Regions from separate parts of the Homo sapiens genome. Here region 2 is linked to region 1. The links are contacts of gene promoters, found by promoter capture Hi-C in human tissues and cell types (Jung and others, 2019). All regions are on one chromosome and are shown on one strand. The core of a region is centred on a gene start or on the middle of the fragment in contact, and the rest is flanking DNA. Distances in the headings are between cores, read along the strand shown. Region 1 holds the start of CLRN1 (clarin 1). Region 2 holds the start of LOC124909448 (a long non-coding RNA gene).

The links. The method cuts DNA at HindIII sites, captures the fragments that hold promoters and counts their contacts. A contact is called where the count stands out against the background at its distance.
Region 2: a fragment that was not itself captured here is called in contact with the fragment with the promoter of CLRN1 in region 1 in 2 of the 25 tissues and cell types used here (H1 embryonic stem cells and adrenal gland).

What each region holds. Positions count from the first base shown.
Region 1 is chr3:150,970,744-150,975,011 of GRCh38, reverse strand. It overlaps CLRN1 (clarin 1), which reads left to right and starts at 2,285. Exons shown (of 3, transcript NM_174878.3): 1 at 2,285-2,556. The coding sequence starts at 2,304. It overlaps CLRN1-AS1 (CLRN1 antisense RNA 1), which reads right to left and starts at 2,334. Exons shown (of 6, transcript NR_024066.2): 1 at 1,919-2,334. The HindIII fragment of the contact is 11,205 bases long and covers 1-4,268 here.
Region 2 is chr3:151,076,093-151,080,691 of GRCh38, reverse strand. It overlaps CLRN1-AS1 (CLRN1 antisense RNA 1), which reads right to left. Exons shown (of 6, transcript NR_024066.2): 6 at 1-1,803. It overlaps LOC124909448 (a long non-coding RNA gene), which reads left to right and starts at 3,322. Exons shown (of 2, transcript XR_007096133.1): 1 at 3,322-3,486. The HindIII fragment of the contact is 5,315 bases long and covers 234-4,599 here.

The DNA.
Region 1 (4,268 bases), core at 1,036-3,535:
TGACTGTGGCACATATATGCCCAAATAACCACTTATCAGGGGCACTGGCACCCCCTTGTTTTGCTAGTGGACCATGATAGCGATTATTCTAAATCCAGTGGTGAATTCATTGGAGGGCCAAATAAACTGAGATGAGTTGCTTATTCTGTGTTCTAGCAATTATTCTAAATCCAGTGGTGAATTCATTGGAAGGCCAAATAAACTGGGATGAGTTGCTTATTCTGTGTTAAGTTATACAAAATAAAAAAGACTTACTAATATTGTAAACTTTATTTTAAGTGCCTCTTTGGAATCTTCTATATGCCCAGTTCTTCTGTGGCCATGTTTTATATTGCCCCTCTTCTCCCCGAAGGTACATTGGCATTCTAGAATGAGTTCTATACTTAGTTGTCTGTCCTTAACGAGACTGGCTGTTGCGACTCCTAGGAGAGGCGAGCTGTGAGAGAAGTTTACCAGTACTCCGAGTCTATACCTCAAAGTTCCCTTCGAAGTGTGCATAATGTAGAGACTCATTTATGCTGAAAATGGTGTGAAATAAGTCTTCATTTATTAATTTCCTCTAAGCTGTCATGCTTAAAGGTGGATCAAAAGAATAGAAGCTAGCATACACATGTGCTTTTGGCCAACTGAAAAAGTTCTATTTACTGATGTCTGTGTTCTTCAAACACTCAATATGTGTAACTAATAATGGGCTAGTCTGCCCCTGTTACTCCTAGACGAACCCAACCCAAACTGAAATGTTTGCCATCTTTTCAAGGTCAGGGGCTTTGCTTGGAATAGAACATCAACCTCAGAAGTAGAAGACCTGGATTTGAATCCCAGCTCCACTACTCTCTTCAGCAAGTTGCTTAAACTCTCTGAGCCTCAATTCCCTTATATATAAGATACGAATAATTGCTTTTTCTTCTTCTTTCTTCTTTCTTATTCTTCTTCCTTCTTCCTTTCTCCTCCTCCTCCTCCTTCTTCTCCTCCTCCCTCCTCTTCTTCTTCCTCTTCTTCATTACTTTATATGCTAATTATGAGAATTACATATGATAATTTAGGTAGAATACTTCACAAGTTGCCAGACATAAGTTCTTACTAAACATTAACTTTGTAGGTCAGAGCTCAGGACAATAACATGGCATATAATAAACATTCACTAGACACTTCACACACACACACACACACACACACACACACACACACACACACACAGTCCTGTGTCTGTAGAAGGAGGAATCTCATTGGAAATGCAAAGTTAAAAAGCTGTTACTGAATTCTGAACTTTAGTTTCCAGGTCTTGACCGTTTAACCAGACCTACCTGCTGCTTAATCTTTGCTCATAACTGTCTCTAGTCTCCCAAACAGATTACCTTTGCTGAGACCTGTGCATTTTTATGATGAATCCATAGAGTCACCTATCTGACCACCATCCCTCTTTCCATCAATATGCCCTTATCTTTACAGATCCTGGTATTCCTTGGACCCAGAAACACATTCCCTTGCTATTATCCTAAAGCAGCTAAGCCTGTTAAAGGAAAGCATTTAGAAATCTAGATATCTGCTCCTGCATTTTCATATTTCTGTATGCCAAGAAAAATTTGAATCAAATTCTCTATTGATACATTAGGTATAAACCATGGATCTGGGAGAAATTAAGTTGGAAGGACAAGGACCCATGGTTGATCCAGAGCACTTAATATTCGTGTAGGACCAAATTCTGTTTAATATTTTTATCCTGCTGTAATTAAAAATTTTTGACATCAACTATCAATACAGGTACATATGTTCTCCCTACCTCTGCTAAAGCTCCTTCCCCCACCACCAAAAACAATAACAAACAAAAAACAAAAATAAAAACATCGATAAGTGAACTTCTCAAGTTGCTGAAAATGTACCATCAGATTCAAGCCTGTTTCTGAAAGTTTCAACTCACCCAATCAGACAAAAGGCTGAGGAAGGGAAACATTTATCAAGTTACACTGAGGACTCCATCTGTTATCTTCGACCTTTGTTACCAAGTGACACAGAGGAGATACTTGAAGGCAGTTTGAAAGACTTGTTTTACAGATTCTTAGTCCAAAGATTTCCAATTAGGGAGAAGAAGCAGCAGAAAAGGAGAAAAGCCAAGTATGAGTGATGATGAGGCCTTCATCTACTGACATTTAACCTGGCGAGAACCGTCGATGGTGAAGTTGCCTTTTCAGCTGGGAGCTGTCCGTTCAGCTTCCGTAATAAATGCAGTCAAAGAGGCAGTCCCTTCCCATTGCTCACAAAGGTCTTGTTTTTGAACCTCGCCCTCACAGAAGCCGTTTCTCATCATGCCAAGCCAACAGAAGAAAATCATTTTTTGCATGGCCGGAGTGTTCAGTTTTGCATGTGCCCTCGGAGTTGTGACAGCCTTGGGGACACCGTTGTGGATCAAAGCCACTGTCCTCTGCAAAACGGGAGCTCTGCTCGTCAATGCCTCAGGGCAGGAGCTGGACAAGTTTATGGGTGAAATGCAGTACGGGCTTTTCCACGGAGAGGGTGTGAGGCAGTGTGGGTTGGGAGCAAGGCCCTTTCGGTTCTCATGTAAGTAGCAATTGCATTTGAGTTATTTAATGCTTTAGGCAGACTCTTCCCAGTGTTGCGAGGAATTATATTTGAGAATTTTGCCGTGTTTACTGCAGGACTTTTTAAATCGGTGTGAACCATATGAAAAACCTATGACTCTGAGCAATTTCTTCTTCCTAGTTTTTATTATTTTATACTTGCTTTTTATTATAATATAGAGTTAATTCATTGTTACATAATTAAGGTTTTTGGAAATATTGGCAATTAAGATGCTTAAGTATTAATATTTATGTAAAAAATTATGGAGTCTTTTTAAAAAAGTAAACTTGGGGAAATAGGAAAGCTGTAAAGAATGATCTTTATGCTTTTTGTTCTTTATAAAAAGAACCAAGGTCATGGGCTCCGTATTTAACCAGGTTGCCACCTTTCTCATGATTTTGTTTCCTGCTCCCCACTCCCTCCCATTATTCCTGCTAAGACCTTTCCTGCTGCTAAATATTCAGTTTTCATTTTTAACTAATTTGGAATCATTTGGCTATAGAAATTTAAAATGATCTGCTGTGCTAACTGGGAAAGAAATGGATGCCTATTTAGTATAGAACATTTTAAACTGATTGACCTGCAAATCATGTAGAGAATATGAGAGAGATTTTCTTGTTGTGATTTTTGTGAAATGGAAGTGTAATCCACAGTATTTATAACCTGTTTATCTTAAGAAGAGAATTTTTAAAAATTACCATGTGAATAGGCAACTCATTAAATGAAAATTAATAGGAAGTCATTTGTTATATCTCTTACAACACACATTCAGAAGTTATTATTATTTCAGAAGGGCTGGTTTGGAACAACCTTATGAAGACACAGTCAGTAAATTACTGCATAAATCACTCTTCAGGAAAGGAGGTTACCAACTGAAGCATTTAAAATGAATTATTATTTTGCCCAGGTTTTTTTTTTCTTTCTAGTATAGGTAGAAGGCTAAATTAATTGAATTTATTATTAACATATGCAGTGCCTAATTAAATTTCAGTGCTGGTCTATTTATATTTCTGCAACATTCCTTATATCTTCTTAGCAGTCATTGGACACCAACCTTCAGCTCACATAGGTTACTAAGTGATATGAATTTTCATAGGGCTCCAGAAAATTTCCAAGAATTGGTTGTTAGCTTTTTAATTGATGAAGTGGATACCAGTTCTTTTCACTGAATGGCTTTTATTCATTAAGGTAATGGGGCTGTTAGAGTTGCTTAGTTTTCCTGGGGAAGGGGAAGGAAGAAAACAAAGCAGAATGTCATGTGATATGCAACTGTATTAAAAAACCGAAAAGGAAAAAAGTTGAGAGAGATGATTTAACCGTGAGTCACCGGCAGCCAAAGCGTGAGTAAAGCTTCTCACAGATGAATTTAGACAAAAGCGGAGAAGGTACTGGTGAATTTTCTGGAGCCTTTACATTTTCTACAGTGAAATGGAGATAAACTTTACTCATGCCATAGGACATGTTTCAAAACAATAATAAGATGTTTTCTGAACACTTACTACATACTAAGCACTTTATATGCTTTGTCTCATTTAATCCTTACACAGCCACATTCTTCTGGGGTTTAGCGAATGATTTTTGTGGTTGTGTCCTATGCTTGTCCTGTCTAAGGATGAAGTTGTTCTAATTGGGTGCCCCTCCTTTTGCTTTCTGTGAGGACTTGCAGAACTGGTGGGGTTTAAACAGTACCC
Region 2 (4,599 bases), core at 1,642-4,141, 110 kb before region 1:
TTTTTAATACAGCATTTATGCTTACAGAGATATAAAAAATACAGACATTAAGACTCTCAAGTAGCACTGACCAATAGTTTTATATTGCTTGCCAGATAGGTACTTTTACATTTTCTGGTATTAAAGAAGTAAAAAGAAATAGATGAAATTAATTTTAATGTACATTTGCTTAAGCCAGTATAACCAAATATTACCATTTCAATAGGTGATCAATACCAAAAAAAGTATTAATGAGATACTTTACATTCTTTTTTATCTTCAGTATTCTAAATCTTGTGTGAATTTCATACCTATACCATCATTTCAGACCAGCCACATTTTGCATTTCATGTATGCAATAGTCACATGTGGCTAGTGGCTAACATGTTGGTCAGCTCAGCTCTGAAGGAATGTTTCAGTCCTAATGAACCTGTAACATGTGGGTTTTTAATAATGACACTGAGGAAGCAGGTGGGTTTCCAAATTAAAAGAACAAAAAGTAATGACAGAAGTAAAACAAGAGAGGCTGTGTGTGGTGGCTCATGCCTGTAATCCCAGCACTTTGGGAGGCCAAGGAGGGCGGATCACCTGAGGTTAGGAGTTCAAGTCCAGCCCGGCCAACATGGTGAAACCCCGTCTCTACTGAAAATACAAAACTTAGTCAGGTATGGGGGTGCACACCTGTAATTCCAGCTACTCATTAGGCTGAGGCAGGAGAACTGCTTGAACCCGGGAGGTGGAGGTTGCAATGAGCCGAGATTGCGCCACTGCATTCCCGCCTGGGTGACAGAGCAAGACTCCATTTCAAAAAAAGAAAGAAATAAATAAAACAAGAGAAAGGTAAAGAAGAAAAGTAAAGGCAACTTGGGGAAGACAGTAGATACCCAAACAGTGCTTAGTTGCTAGACAGATGGAAACTTCAGGGGGCAAAGGACACAGAAAGGAAAATCTGGGGATTTAAAATCAGAGGGTAAAATAAGAGAGTTTTAAATTACAAAGCCGAACCAATGACAAGGCTAAAGATTTAACCTCATTCACTAGCAAAATGGTGTCTGCTACATTTACAAAATGAAGGCTGACTGGTTGGTTTCTGGAGAACGAAGGGGGCCACACAAACTTAGGTCACTGTTAATATCATGGTCACATACTCAGCTTTTCAGCACCAGAATCTTATTTTGTCAGCTGACCCAGAGTGGTTCAATCTCTACAAGGCTCAACACACTCAAGAGTTCTGGCTTCTCAATACAAAGAAATACCCCTTTCCAGAGACTGAAAAACATATATCCTCTTATTCAGATCACCTCCTTTCTAAAGTTTGTTGTAAAACAAAGTTAGCAAGCAGAAATTTGGTGACCATGAAATTAGAGCAAAAGGAATTGGATAATCTCCTACGAGCAGTCACACAGACTGTCCCACAGTAGAATTCATCTCCCTTATGACATGAATAGGATAGATGTCACACTGTGGCCCATCGGTCCCATTGGTGGATATACAGACAGGTTATTATTGTTCAATGCCTTTATTATTTACTTCATACCAGAGGTTCTTGGTGGTCCACAAATATTTGTTTGGATTGCTTTGGGCTTGCACAGTCACTTCTGGACTCTCTAGGAAAGTCTGCCTACACTGGGTCCACCTTTTCCAATGACACCAATCTGTTGGAGCTGAGAAGGGTCTGCCCCTTTGAGTGTGCTATGTTGTCACAGCCCCAACTGACCAGCTTCACTCAGAGGGCTGGCTAACCAGTTGAGATCCTACATCTTGAAAGAGTGAGATCCCTACTATACGGAGACCTCTGCTAAGCAGGCCTGGCTTCAGACTTTCCTGTTGGGAAAGGAGAGAGAGAGAGATTACTTTTCAGTTATACAATAATTGATTATGTTACTACTTTTTTATTGTTAACCAGTTAAGGATCCAGTCTTTATCATCAGTTAGTTTCAGATTGTAACTAACCTGTTAGGATGGGTTACATCTGATGAAAATTATAATCTGATAACTATTCATTATGAGATATTTCGGTTCTCAGAGAAATATTTTTCTCCAAGTTCTAGGGACATCCTCTTATACTTTCTTATCTATCTGCTGCAGTCACACAGAGCAAGAAAGCGTGGAAAATATATTAGATGGCAGAATCTGTATAGTAAACAAAATATCTTGATGGATTAAAATGATGAACTAAATGTAACAGGGTCAAATTTTATATAAGAATAAATTCTTTTTTCCCCTCTCTACTGGATATATCTAAGACTGTTTGGTACCTACTGTTTGCTAAATCTAAAGTTTAAATTCTAAGCAGTAAAAAATAAACGCTGCCAACACTTTGCTCTCAGTAGCATTTGGGGAATAGTGCACAAATCAATTACATGGATCCTTTATATAATAGTATTTTTTATTAGTATTGTTAAAACATTGCCCAACATTCTCACCACTATGCCTCTTCCCAGGGCTGTTAACAAATAGGAGAGAAAGGAAAACACCTCTTGGCTACAGTTGTGGTATGCGGAACTGCAGAGTGAATATAAAAATTGTCTCGGAGAGGATGTTGCAAACCAAGATGGAGAAATGTGTCAGATCAGCAAAGGAGCCTGGAGAAGTTAGGGTCTCCTGACCCCTGGAACCTCAGCCACCTGGTCCAGTTTTGCTAACAGGAAGCAGGGGCCAGCTGGGAGTGTGGTGATGAGCAAAATAGACATTAAGTTCAAGTTGGGGCATCTTGAGTACGAAGAGACAAAGGGAGTCCTTTCTGAGCAGTAGTAAATGGAGGCTATAGAGGCTGTGACAGCTAGACTGAAACAGAAGATGAGAGTAGAGACTGGCTGAGTAAGGATGAGAGCAGAGAGGAAGAAGAGCTGAGAACCAAGTTGTCATCAAGACGGATCAAGGCTTGTGTGTAGGAGGCAGGCAATTGGCTTGCCCTGCAGAATGGTTGGCTTTTTGCCCATTGCCAAGGTACATAATGAACGCGAGGACCCCCCATTAGATGACAGCACCAACAGTGGATGGGGGGAGGTAGGGCAGAATAGCTGAATGGCATAAGATCAAAGGAGAATGGTTTTTAACAAGACAGTGAAATATAATGTGGGGGAGTGAAGCAGACACTGTGGCAGACACTGCTTGTTCTCTGCCCGATATCTTTATCTTTATCCCTTTTCTTCCTTAGTAACGAAATCTTGAATTTGTTCTGGGGTACAATATGCCAGCTAAATACACCTACCTTCCTAGATTACCTTACATCTAGGGATGGCCATGTGGCACACTTCTAGCCAATGAGACATAAGCTTAACTTCTCTAGGGATTCTGAGAATGTTTTTCTTTCCTGATGCAGGCAACACCCTTTAGCTCCTTTTCTCTTCTCGCCTGGAATTTAGTCATGAAGTCTAGACTACAATGGCCATATTGTGACCAAGAAGTTAGAAATATGGTATGAGGAAAAGGCAAGACAACCCCAGAGATGAGCCCTGATTTCAAGTGGCCACTGAACCAATACCAACAGCCATCTACAACCAGGTATCTGGTTATGTGAAGAATGAGCCCTACTTAATGAAACCAGTGTTAGTGACTTTTCTATTATTCATAATGTAATATATTCCCCATAGATATTAACCCACCTGGTTGAACTGAAATACAAAGGTAAGAGGGGTGCAGGAAAAGCAGTGCTCCAAGGGAAGAGGCCAGCTTTCCCAAGGTAGGAGGAAGGAGGTGAGAGTGTTAGAAAAGAAACTGTATAGGTATGGCAATTTGCTAGCTATGGGGAAAGGATTCAAGAGGCCAGAGTGGAAGAGAATGAAAAGGAGATAAGGGATGGAAGCCTGGGGCAGAAAGACGTGCAAAGCTTCATGAGGACGATAGCGTGGAAGTGGATCAGTTGACTATGTGGGCATAGGGGTAGAGGCTACACTTTGAACCTAGACCAGCATGAACAGAAGTGAGATCCATGGAAGATTTGGTCTCCAAGTCTCTTTGAGGTCAGAAACCTTGTTATCTTCGCAGAGGGATTACCAGGTTGCACCAGTGGAACCATCATCTTTCCACATCCTTGGTTAGGAAAAAAAGGAGAAATGTCATCCCTTTCAGCTCTCTAGAGAATCCATGTGCAGGTTTAAAGCTGAATAATGAAACCTGGCAATTTATCTGGATTCCCTTTAAATCTCTCTGGGGTCAGAAATAGAAGCAACCTGAAGGAGGCGGGGAGGAACTGAAGGCCACAGGGCCTGCTAGGGCAGGATGAGGGAGGCATTTTGCTCTCTTTTCTGGTAATTGGCCCACAAGGGCTGTTGTCTCCCCAAGGAGGCTAGTGTTCCCCTCCCTAAGTCCTTAGTCCCAAAGCAGAGTGACAGCCGTGAGCCTGCTAGATCATCCATGTTGCCATAGCAACAGGCTTGCCCTTGGAGCAGTGGGTTCATGACAAAATGATCAGCCCTCTCTTAAAGGTTGTTGCTGTGTGTTGGACCAAGAATGCAGGCCAGGTGGGTGGGTATGAAGGCCTGGAGCCAAGAATATTCAGGGTAGGAATTTTTTCCCAAGTGGTGAAAAGCCTGAAGAGTCTGAGAATGAGTACAAGCTAAATCTAACCAGCCAGGGGCCAAAACAGAAGAAGCACTATTCAACCATCAAGCCTGA